Regions from separate parts of the Homo sapiens genome. Here region 1 is linked to region 2. The links are contacts of gene promoters, found by promoter capture Hi-C in blood cells and fetal thymus (Javierre and others, 2016). All regions are on one chromosome and are shown on one strand. Each heading gives the region's core, a stretch centred on a gene start or on the middle of the fragment in contact. The rest is flanking DNA. Distances are from core to core; before and after follow the strand shown.

What was found. Contacts are between HindIII fragments. The CHiCAGO score rates a contact against its expected background, and 5 or more counts as called.
Region 1: a fragment that was not itself captured here is called in contact with the fragment with the promoter of USP47 in region 2 in 2 of 17 cell types (non-activated CD4 T cells and activated CD4 T cells); the score reaches 6.6 in non-activated CD4 T cells.

Annotation. Positions count from the first base shown.
Region 1 is chr11:10,839,332-10,843,678 of GRCh38, forward strand. No RefSeq gene overlaps it. Among named protein-coding and RNA genes, the nearest start is that of ZBED5, 17 kb to the right of the region's middle. The HindIII fragment of the contact is 4,377 bases long and covers 1-3,989 here.
Region 2 is chr11:11,838,598-11,843,566 of GRCh38, forward strand. It overlaps USP47 (ubiquitin specific peptidase 47), which reads left to right and starts at 3,375. Exons shown (of 28, transcript NM_001282659.2): 1 at 3,375-3,627. The coding sequence starts at 3,589. It overlaps LOC107984311 (a long non-coding RNA gene), which reads right to left and starts at 3,244. Exons shown (of 4, transcript XR_001748134.3): 1 at 2,578-3,244; 2 at 922-960. RefSeq lists enhancers at 2,451-3,316, 3,099-3,268, 3,317-4,180, 3,479-3,618. The HindIII fragment of the contact is 16,233 bases long and covers 1-4,969 here.

The DNA of each region.
Region 1 (4,347 bases), core at 551-3,050, 1.0 Mb before region 2:
GTAGTAGCTACCCATCTACTTTATTCTATTTTGTATGTATCTATATAGGTTAATCATTCCCATTGACTTGTTTTCTCTCCTCATTTATATAAGGTGTATTTGTAATTTAGCTAATGGTATTGTACTTATGTTTATTAATTTTGATAATTATGCTATAATTATATAATACGTTGATATTAGGGGAAGCTATGTGAAGGTATTGGTACTATTTTTGCAACTTTTCTGTAAGTGTAACTTTATTTATTTATTTTTGAGATGGAGTTTTGCTCTGTCTCCCAGGCTGGAGTGCAATGGTGTGATCTCGGCTCACTGCAACCTCTGCCTCCCGGGTTCAAGTGATTCTCCTGCCTCAGCCTCTTGAGTAGCCCGCCACCACACCTGGCTAATTTTTGTATTTTTAGTAGAGATGGGGTTTTGCCATGTTGGCCAGATTGGTCTCAAACTCCTGACCTCAGGTGATCTGCCCGCCTCAGCCTCCCAAAGTGCTAAGATTACAGGCATGAGTCACCACACCCAGCCAGTCTAACTTTATTTCAAAATAAAAAGTTTACGCTGGGCATGGTAGCTCACACCTATAATCCTGGCACTTTGGGAGGCCAAGGTGGGAGGGCTGCTTGAAGCCAGGAGTTCAAGACTGACCAGTCTTGAACACAGTGAGACCCCATCATAGTGAGACCCCATCTCTATTAAATATATATATATATATATATATATAAAGTTTAAAAATGAGCACAATTATGCAAACATAAATATATGATTTAGAAACACATGAAGTGATGAAATTTTTGATGCAATGTGGAATAAAAAATAAGATGCACTAAAATAATGTTTGCTCCTTTTTTAGATGCAAATGACATTAAATAAATCTTATAAATTACACTAAAGTAATGCCAGGAATTTTTCTTTATAACATTTTAAAAATACATATATATTTAAAAATAGAGACAGGGTCTCACTGTGTTGCCCAAGCTAGTCTTAAACTCCTGGGCTCAAGCGATCCTGCTGCCTCAGCTTCCCAAAGTGCTGGGATTACAGGTGTAAACCGCTGCACCCAGACATGGACTTTTCTTCTATCACTTCTTTAATATTTCCTCCGTAAAATTATTTCATGTGTCTCTCTTTGGAACTATGAGTTACTGGAATCCCTGCATTTATTTTACATGTCTCTGAAATCACCCTCCACCATTATCTTTGTTCTTTTGGAGTAACTCTTTAGCTTACTGTTCCAGTTTTGCTAGTTTGCTCTTCATTGAAGAAGTCCATTCACTGTTTAGTCCACCTTTTAATTTTTAAAAATTATATTGTATTTTATTTATTTATTTTTTGGAGACAAGGTCTGGGTCTATGCCCAGGCTGGAGTGCAGTGGCACCATCTCAGCTCACTGCAACATCTGCCTCCTGGGCTGAAGCCATCCTCCCACCTCAGCCTCCTGAGTAGCTGGGACTACAGGCATGCACCACTACCCCCAGCTAATTTTTGTATTTTTTGTAGAGACGAGGTTTCGTCATGTTTCCCAGGCTGGTCTCAAACTCATGAGCTCAAGCAATCCACCCACCTCAGCCTCCCAAATTGTTGGGATTACAGGTGTGAGCCACCACACCTCGCATAATTTTTTAAAATGGTAACAATCTATTTAACTGGTTCTTTTTCATCATTACAATATTCTCTCCTATTCCTCTGGGGATATTCTGTATACAAACTAAATTTAAAAAAAACATGTGAGGTGCTTAGAAGAATGCCTGACACCACACCAGGATGCACTAATTATTAATAATTATCATTTCACAGATCCTCTTCTGTTTACTCTGAAAACTACTTGCTTTTTGTTTGTTGACTGCTGTCATGCTTTCATGGTACTGGTCTTCCTCCGGCATTTGGTTGTTCCTAATTTTGTTCTCATCTTGTTATTTCCTGTTCTCTGTGTATGAGGCCATTTCTGTTTATCATAGTTTGCTCTAGTGATTGTGAGGGGATAAAATGTAATCCTGGACAGGGTATGCCAGTAGCTAACATTCTGAGTGTGAAATGAGGCTTCCTTTCCTGGACACAGTGTAGCCACTGGGGTACTGCCTGGCTTATTGGCCCCAAGTTTCCAAAGTCACTGTGCTAGCTAGGGGCAAATACCATTCTGAGGTACCCTTGGCTTTGAAGAATGAATGAGGGAAGGAGCCAACCCAACCAGAGGTTTCAAATTCCATTCCCCAAAAGTTATCCTTTATAGTTGCTCTAGGACGCTATGCCATCCCCACCCCTGCCTTCTACTCCCCTACTCCATCTATCTCTTTTCTTTAATCTATCACTTCTGAGCCTGAATTATTACACTGCCAATTTGATCCCATCTCCCTTCTTTCAGAGACTTCTCAAAATTCCAAGTCTGCTGGTAATTTGGACTCTGATAATCTTTAATAATCTTGAACAGACTGGGCGTGGTGGCTCAAGTCTATAATCCCAGCATTCTAGGAGGCCGAGGCAGAATTCCTTGAGGCCAGGAATTTGAGACTAGCCTGGGCAAAATAGCAAGACCCTATCTCTACAAAAAGTTGATAATTAGCTGAGCATCGTGATGCACACCTATAGTCCTAGTTACTCAGGGGGCTGAGGTGGGAGGATTACTTGAGGCCAAGAGTTTGAGGTGGCAGTGAGCTATGAAGGCATCACTGCACTCCAGCCTGGAGTGAGATCCTGTCTCTTAAAAAAAAGGGAGGGCTTTAAAAAAAAAAAAACACAGTGCCTTGGCCACCTGATAAATTCAGATTCATGGTTCAAGACTCAAATACAGCATTTATCTCTATGAATTTGTCTTTGACTCATACTTCATCATATTTTTCTCTGAACTTACATAGATCCTTGTATAAATCTTTATTGTTATTTATAAATGTCTGTCCCTGTACCCCATTAAACTGTGAATAAATTAACAAATGAAAAAAATGCTCTCCACAGGTCTATTAGTAATACTAGCATATCCACCAGATTATTTTCCTTAGATGGTCTTGCTGACAGGTAACTTCTACTTTGTGTGTTTTTAAAAATATGAACTAAAACTTGGAATTTATTATCACAGACCAAGAATGAAAAAGATTTAACTGTCCCTATCTATTAAGAAAATTGATTAGGATGAACAATCCTAAAAAACATTAGAATGAAGGTAACTTATTCTATGACACAAAACAAACTTTTTTTTGAGAGAGTCTTGCTCTGTTGCCCAGGCTGGAGTGCAGTGGTGTCATCTCTGCTCACTGCAACCTCTGCCTCCCGGGTTCAAGCAATTCTCCTGCCTCAGCCTCCTGAGTAGCTAGGATTACAGGTGCGCAGCACTGCACCTGGCTAATTTTTGTATTTTTAGTAGAGACAGAGTTTCACCATGGTGGTCAGGCTGGTCTTGAACTCCTGACCTCGTAATCTGCCTGTCTCGGCCTCCCAAAGTGCTGGGATTACAAGCATGTGCCACCGTGCCTGGCCAAACATTTTTAATGCTTTAGAAAAATTCATCTCTAGTCAAGTTTATGCTAACCATAAACATAATATAAAAATTACATACAATTCTATGTATTCACTGAGAGAAGAGCAACAAATGGAAATACTGTGTGCTTTGAAGTCAGACAGATGTAACCTGGAATCTCAGGTTTGTTACTCATTAGCTTTGTAAAACTGGATAAACAACTTGAGCACCCTGATCCTGAGGGAGACGCCTTCTAAAGTGGCTCACTGTGATTTCCGCCTCCTGGTATTCACACTCTTGCATAATACCTTCCCCTTGAATATGGGCTGGACCTAGTGACTTGCTTTTAATGAATAGAACATAACAAAAATGATGGGATGTCACCTCCAAAACTAGGTTACAAAAAATTATGATTTTGGTCTTACTGGTGCTTTCTCACTTGTTCACTTTGATGAAACCTGCTGGAATGTTGTGAGCTGCCCTGTAGAGGTCCATGTGTCAAGGAACTTCCAACAGCCTGCAAAAAACTGAATCCTGCCAACAGGAGTAAGCTTGGAAGTGGATCCTTCACTAGTGGAGTCTTTTTTTTTTTTTTTTGAGACGGAGTCTCGCTCTGTCGCCCAGGCTAGAGTGCAGTGGTGCAATCACGGCTCACTGCAAGCTCCGCCTCCTGGGTTCATGCCATTCTCCTGCCTCAGCCTCCCAAGTAGCTGGGACTACAGGTACCTGCCACCATGCCCGGCTAATTTTTTGTATTTTTAGTAGAGACGGGGTTTCACCGTGTTAGCCAGGATGGTCTCGATCTACTGACCCCGTGATCCTCCCACCTCAGCCTCTCAAAGTGCTGGGATTACAGGCGTGAGCCACCGCGCGCGGCTCTAGTGGAGTCTTGAAATGACTGCAGCTC
Region 2 (4,969 bases), core at 2,125-4,624:
ATTATCATAAAAGGCCTTTTCGAAGATTTAACATTTGAGAAGCCCAAATGACAAGATTGAACTAGATAAGAGAAAAGATCTACGGGAAGAATATTTCAGGGAAAGGAAATAACTACTACAAAGGCTTTGGGGCAGAGACAAACTTTATGTGTTTAAAAAGCTCAATAAAGGCAAAGTGGCTGGGTCATTGGGCGTAAGAGGAAGAGTGGCAGATGACTGGAGCAAGACAGATGGGTTTGATTACATTGGATCTCACAGGCTATAGCAAAGAATATGAATTTTATTCTAAGAGGGATGAGATGTCTTTGGAAGATTTGGAAGGGATATGACATATTTTTGAAAGATCACTCTGGTTGCTCTATGGAATATGGATTGTTGAGGGATAAGATTAGAAACAGGAACCCAGTTAGGAGGTAACTGCAGTAGTACAGGCAAAAGAATAAAGTAATTGGAGTGGGATGTGCAGTAGTAGATAGAAGGAAAAGTGGATGGATTTGAGATGTGTTTCAGAGGTGGAAGCAACAGCCCATATGAAGGGATTGAATGTAAGATGAAGAGTGTCAGGTTTTTGGTTTGATAAACTGAATTGATGACAGTGTAATTTATCAAGGTGGAGAAGAACTGATAGAGGATATGTTGCAGGAGGTAGGGGAGGCTTGGAAATCAAATGTTCTGTTCAGGTCAAGTTTAAATTTGGGAGGTATTGAGCCATTAAAAAGGTAGATATATGAGTTTACAGCCTATAGGAGAGGTGAGGACAAGGGACGTAACATTTACATATAAAGTAAATAAACACATATCCATGTAATCTCAGTAATAATATATTAGGAAGAGTAGCCATATATTTGTATTTGTCCATTTATTCATTAATCAATTCATGAATCCACATACTTATTCCACAAATATTCATTGTATACTTACCATCTTATCAGGCTCTCCTGCAATAGTCAAGCCAGTGGCCTATAAAGAAAAGAGTGTGCAATCAGAAAAGGGGGATTGTAGGAAGAAAATGTTAGACTTTCTTTTTATATTTATTTTAATCTAAAAACGCAAAATTAAATCTTACTTATATTGAATATATAAACACCAGCATCTCACTACTCCTGAGTGAGAAGTGTGAGTTCTGCAATGTAGAGAATTCAGAGATTCCTTCATTTTCTTTTAGTATGTTGTCACTTATTCCAGTTTATGTGGGCTGGGTTAAGTAGATTTATCAATTACATTCTTATTTCATTATATCAACCTTTACTAAAATGAAAGTGACTAAAAAGGATTTCTGGAAAGACAACATGAGTTTGAAATAATATTGCAAGCATAAGCAAAAAAGATGACAGAGATGACATTTTTACTTCTAGGGTGAGCACTACAGCACTGGCCAGCACTACAGAAGACACCTTACTAAGTCATGGGATGACATTTTGAAAATAAAAGTTTGGAAATATTTCCATCATGTGATTTTGATGCAAAAATGATATATGTGAGCCACCCAAGTCTGGGACTATGGTGAAGCAAATGGTTTTCAAGGTGAAAACCGTTCACCTTGGGCACAAAATTTAAGGGGGGGGTGCCAAAAATTCAATAATCAAGACAACTAATCTTAATACAATATTTTAAAAAGTCAAAATTTATCTTAATCAATCCATGATAATCAAAATATCAAAACCTTAAAGACAAGATCTATAACTCCCAAAACTCATACATGAATACTTAAAACTTGAAGATAGAAATTTTCAACTTCTTAAAAATCTTCTAAGCAATTTATTCCAAAGAGCTTTGAACCCATTTGTAAAAATATAAAAATGCAACATCTTCTGGTTGACATCAGGAAAGATGGAACACTACTAGCTGAATTTCAATAAAAACCTTTGCATGGTTGTTGGATGGAATGGATAAAAATGAAACTTTTTTCATATCAGTTTTTTTTTTTAAATCGTTCTAAACATGCATTAGGAAGAGTGGCCAAAGATGTACTTCCTCCTTTAGGATCTACATCTTTGTGAGTTACCTTTTTTTCAGCTTATGACAGCCATTAAAACCAAGTACAAAAATAACCTGACGTTCAATCAGATATTTTAATAACTATTTCACGAAGTATTAAAGATTTTTAAAACTAACGAAACCTAGTCAATCATATTGATTTCCTTAAATATTTTTAGTGAGAATAACAAAGATTTTTATACCATTAATATGGAAAATAACTAAGTTATTTTAAATGTTTATGTCATCTTTGTCTTAGCCTTTTTACATTTTACAAATGTTTTATAATTCTGCACACAGCAGGACACGTATAAAACTTATATAAGTATATGGATTTTTTTTTGGTAACGGGATTACAATAAAAAAAAGTTTGGAGAACACAAGTGCAGGCAGTTAATGCTGTGGGTGTTAGGAACATGACAAGATTATATTATCTCAGCATGCTGTAAGATCACTGTATCCATAAAAGTCTTCATGAAGGAGCCCCGCCGAGTCTCCATAATGGAAGCAGGATTTGGAGAAATGACTTCTGCAAACTTTGTTTAGTATAACACAAAGCACCATGCTTACTACTAGAGAAGATTAAAATTCTCTAAAAACCTTGTTAACGGAGATCACAGGTTGAAGCATACTGCAGCTCTACTCTTGGAAGGCTAGCTCAGTCTCAGACTTGGCCCTGATGGAGAAGGAAGTTCCCTGGAAGAGGGCAGGGGAGCGCCTCTCCAATGTAGTTGCGGGGGGCGGGCGGTGAGGACACCGCTTCATAAGGGAAGGGGTGGCTGCCTCCCCAAGCAGGGGGTGGCCCCTGAGGTCCCTCCAGCTGGGGGCCCTTGAGAGGGAGGGTGGGGAGAGGGGAAAAGAACGTCAGGAGAGTGAACGGGAGCAAATAAAACGCTGTCCATTCTGACTGGAAGGGCCAGAGCCGTGTCTAAGGGCGGGGGCCGGGAGGTGGCCCGCGGTGGTGTCTCTACCAGGACGAGGCCTGGGGTATCTGAAGAGGGGATGACGTCCAGGCGCTTTGCTAAAGGGAAGCCAGAAGGGTATGAGTTGCTAGGGTCAGAGATGGGGCTTTCGGCTCGAGTCTTTCCCTGCAGGGCAGAGAGTCCGAAGAGCCCGAGAAGGCAGGGAGGACAGTGGGCCTGGTCCTTCCCCGGCCGGCAGAGGGAGTCCCGAGATGGAACGTCCAGCTCTCCTCTAACGAAAAGCGTTTGCATGGCTGTCTCGCCAATTCTGTACCTCCCGGGGCTGAGGAAGAGCCGAGGTGACTAGAAGCTAGCGACAAGTGCCGGCCACCTCCGACGCCAGGCGCCGGGCTTGGAGCCCGACGGGCCGAATTCTCGCGAGAGCGGCCGCCGCCATTTTTCCATTGATTGCAGCGGGCTGGGGGAGGGGCCGACGACGAAGGCGGCTGTGGTAGCGGCGGCGGCGGCGGCGGAGCCCTGGGTCGGTGTCTGCGCGCTGGTGTCTGAGGCCCAGGCTGAGGCCTCCGCTATTGCTGGAGCGCAGGCGGCGGAGAGGATGACTGCCGCTGCCATTCTCTCTTGAGCTAGCGAGCCGCCGCCACCCTCCACCCTCCCCCGGCAGGGCGGAGAGGAGCGGCCGGAGTCAGCGATGGTGCCCGGCGAGGAGAACCAACTGGTCCCGAAAGAGGTGAGGGGCCCCAGAGGAGGTTAGGCCTTAGGCCTGCGGCCGCTCGAGGCAACACAGGCCCGGGCCGGGGTTCGGCTGCGGGCCCGGCCGGGGTGCAGGCTCGGCTGTGGGGGAATGAGGAGGCGTGAGGCAGTCGGGGGTGGACGGTGGGTGCGGCGAGCAGTTGGGAGACCCGCTGGCTCTAGGGGCCGGGGAGCGGACCTCCCGCCTCGGGTTTTATGGGGCTGGACGAATAAAGGAGCGGACGGGAAAGAATCAGGTTCTGCTCTAGGGGAGAAGGTGGCCTTTTAAGTTCTTGTTTAACGTGTGGAGCCGGGAGAGATCATTTCAAAGAAAACATTCTGGAACAGTTGCCTATGGGCACGGCAGGGTGACGGTGCTGCTTCTGGGTTTGACAGTGGCAGCGTATAGCTTTCAGCGCTTGTGAAATCTACACCCAAGTGAGATCTGTGGGAGGGCAGACTTAACTGTTACGACTTTTTTCAACTCCTGTTACTTGGTAGTACTATTGGCCTGCCTAAATGGGGCCTACCGAAGATCGTGGAAAAGTAGTACATGGGACATTAATGTAAAGGAAGGAGATAGGAGAACATTACCACATGGAGAGCTGAACTCTTTTTTTTTTTTTTTTTTTTTGAGGTTGGGTTGTGTATGCCAATTTGAGTGACTTCTTAAATTCTTAAAAGCAAGTGATACGAGAAGCCTTGACTACTTGGCTTCTCTTGAATAGTAGTAGAAGATTTAGGGTAGAATCCAGCACTGGCCAGCGAATTTCAACGTATTAATAGTATCTCTGTTGGCTTTATAAATATCTTCGGCGTATTCAAATGTGTATTTTTAACTGGCTGATCATCAGGCTAATGCTTTGGATTTTTATTTCTCATATACCTTAAATAGAGACAAGTGTTGGATTGAAATTAACTGTGTGCGATCTTGAAATTAATGAGTGATCATTACAGATTCTTAAATTTTTTTGTGCCTGTTTTACTTGTTTTGTAGCAATTCTTTGTTACTTAAGCAAGCTCTGACAGTATGCAAGGGTGATATTATTGGAGTTATGTACCTGTATGATACAAGTATTTTCCCAGCTTTGTCAGAAGGGCAGTGATAGTTGTTTTGCAAGGACGATTTTTGTAAAAGGCAGAGAGTTATGTGTCAGTATTTGTTCATCAAGCGTCACCAACTCTGTGCAAAGCAGATAAACAGATGAGTTAATCAGAATTCTTGCCTTGGGAACTTTCTGAGCTACTAAGAAAGGGAACACTAGTGTTTGTTGAACTCCAATTAGGGACTAGGTACTTTACCACGTAAGTAATTCTTATGCAAGGAAGGAAGTGATAGG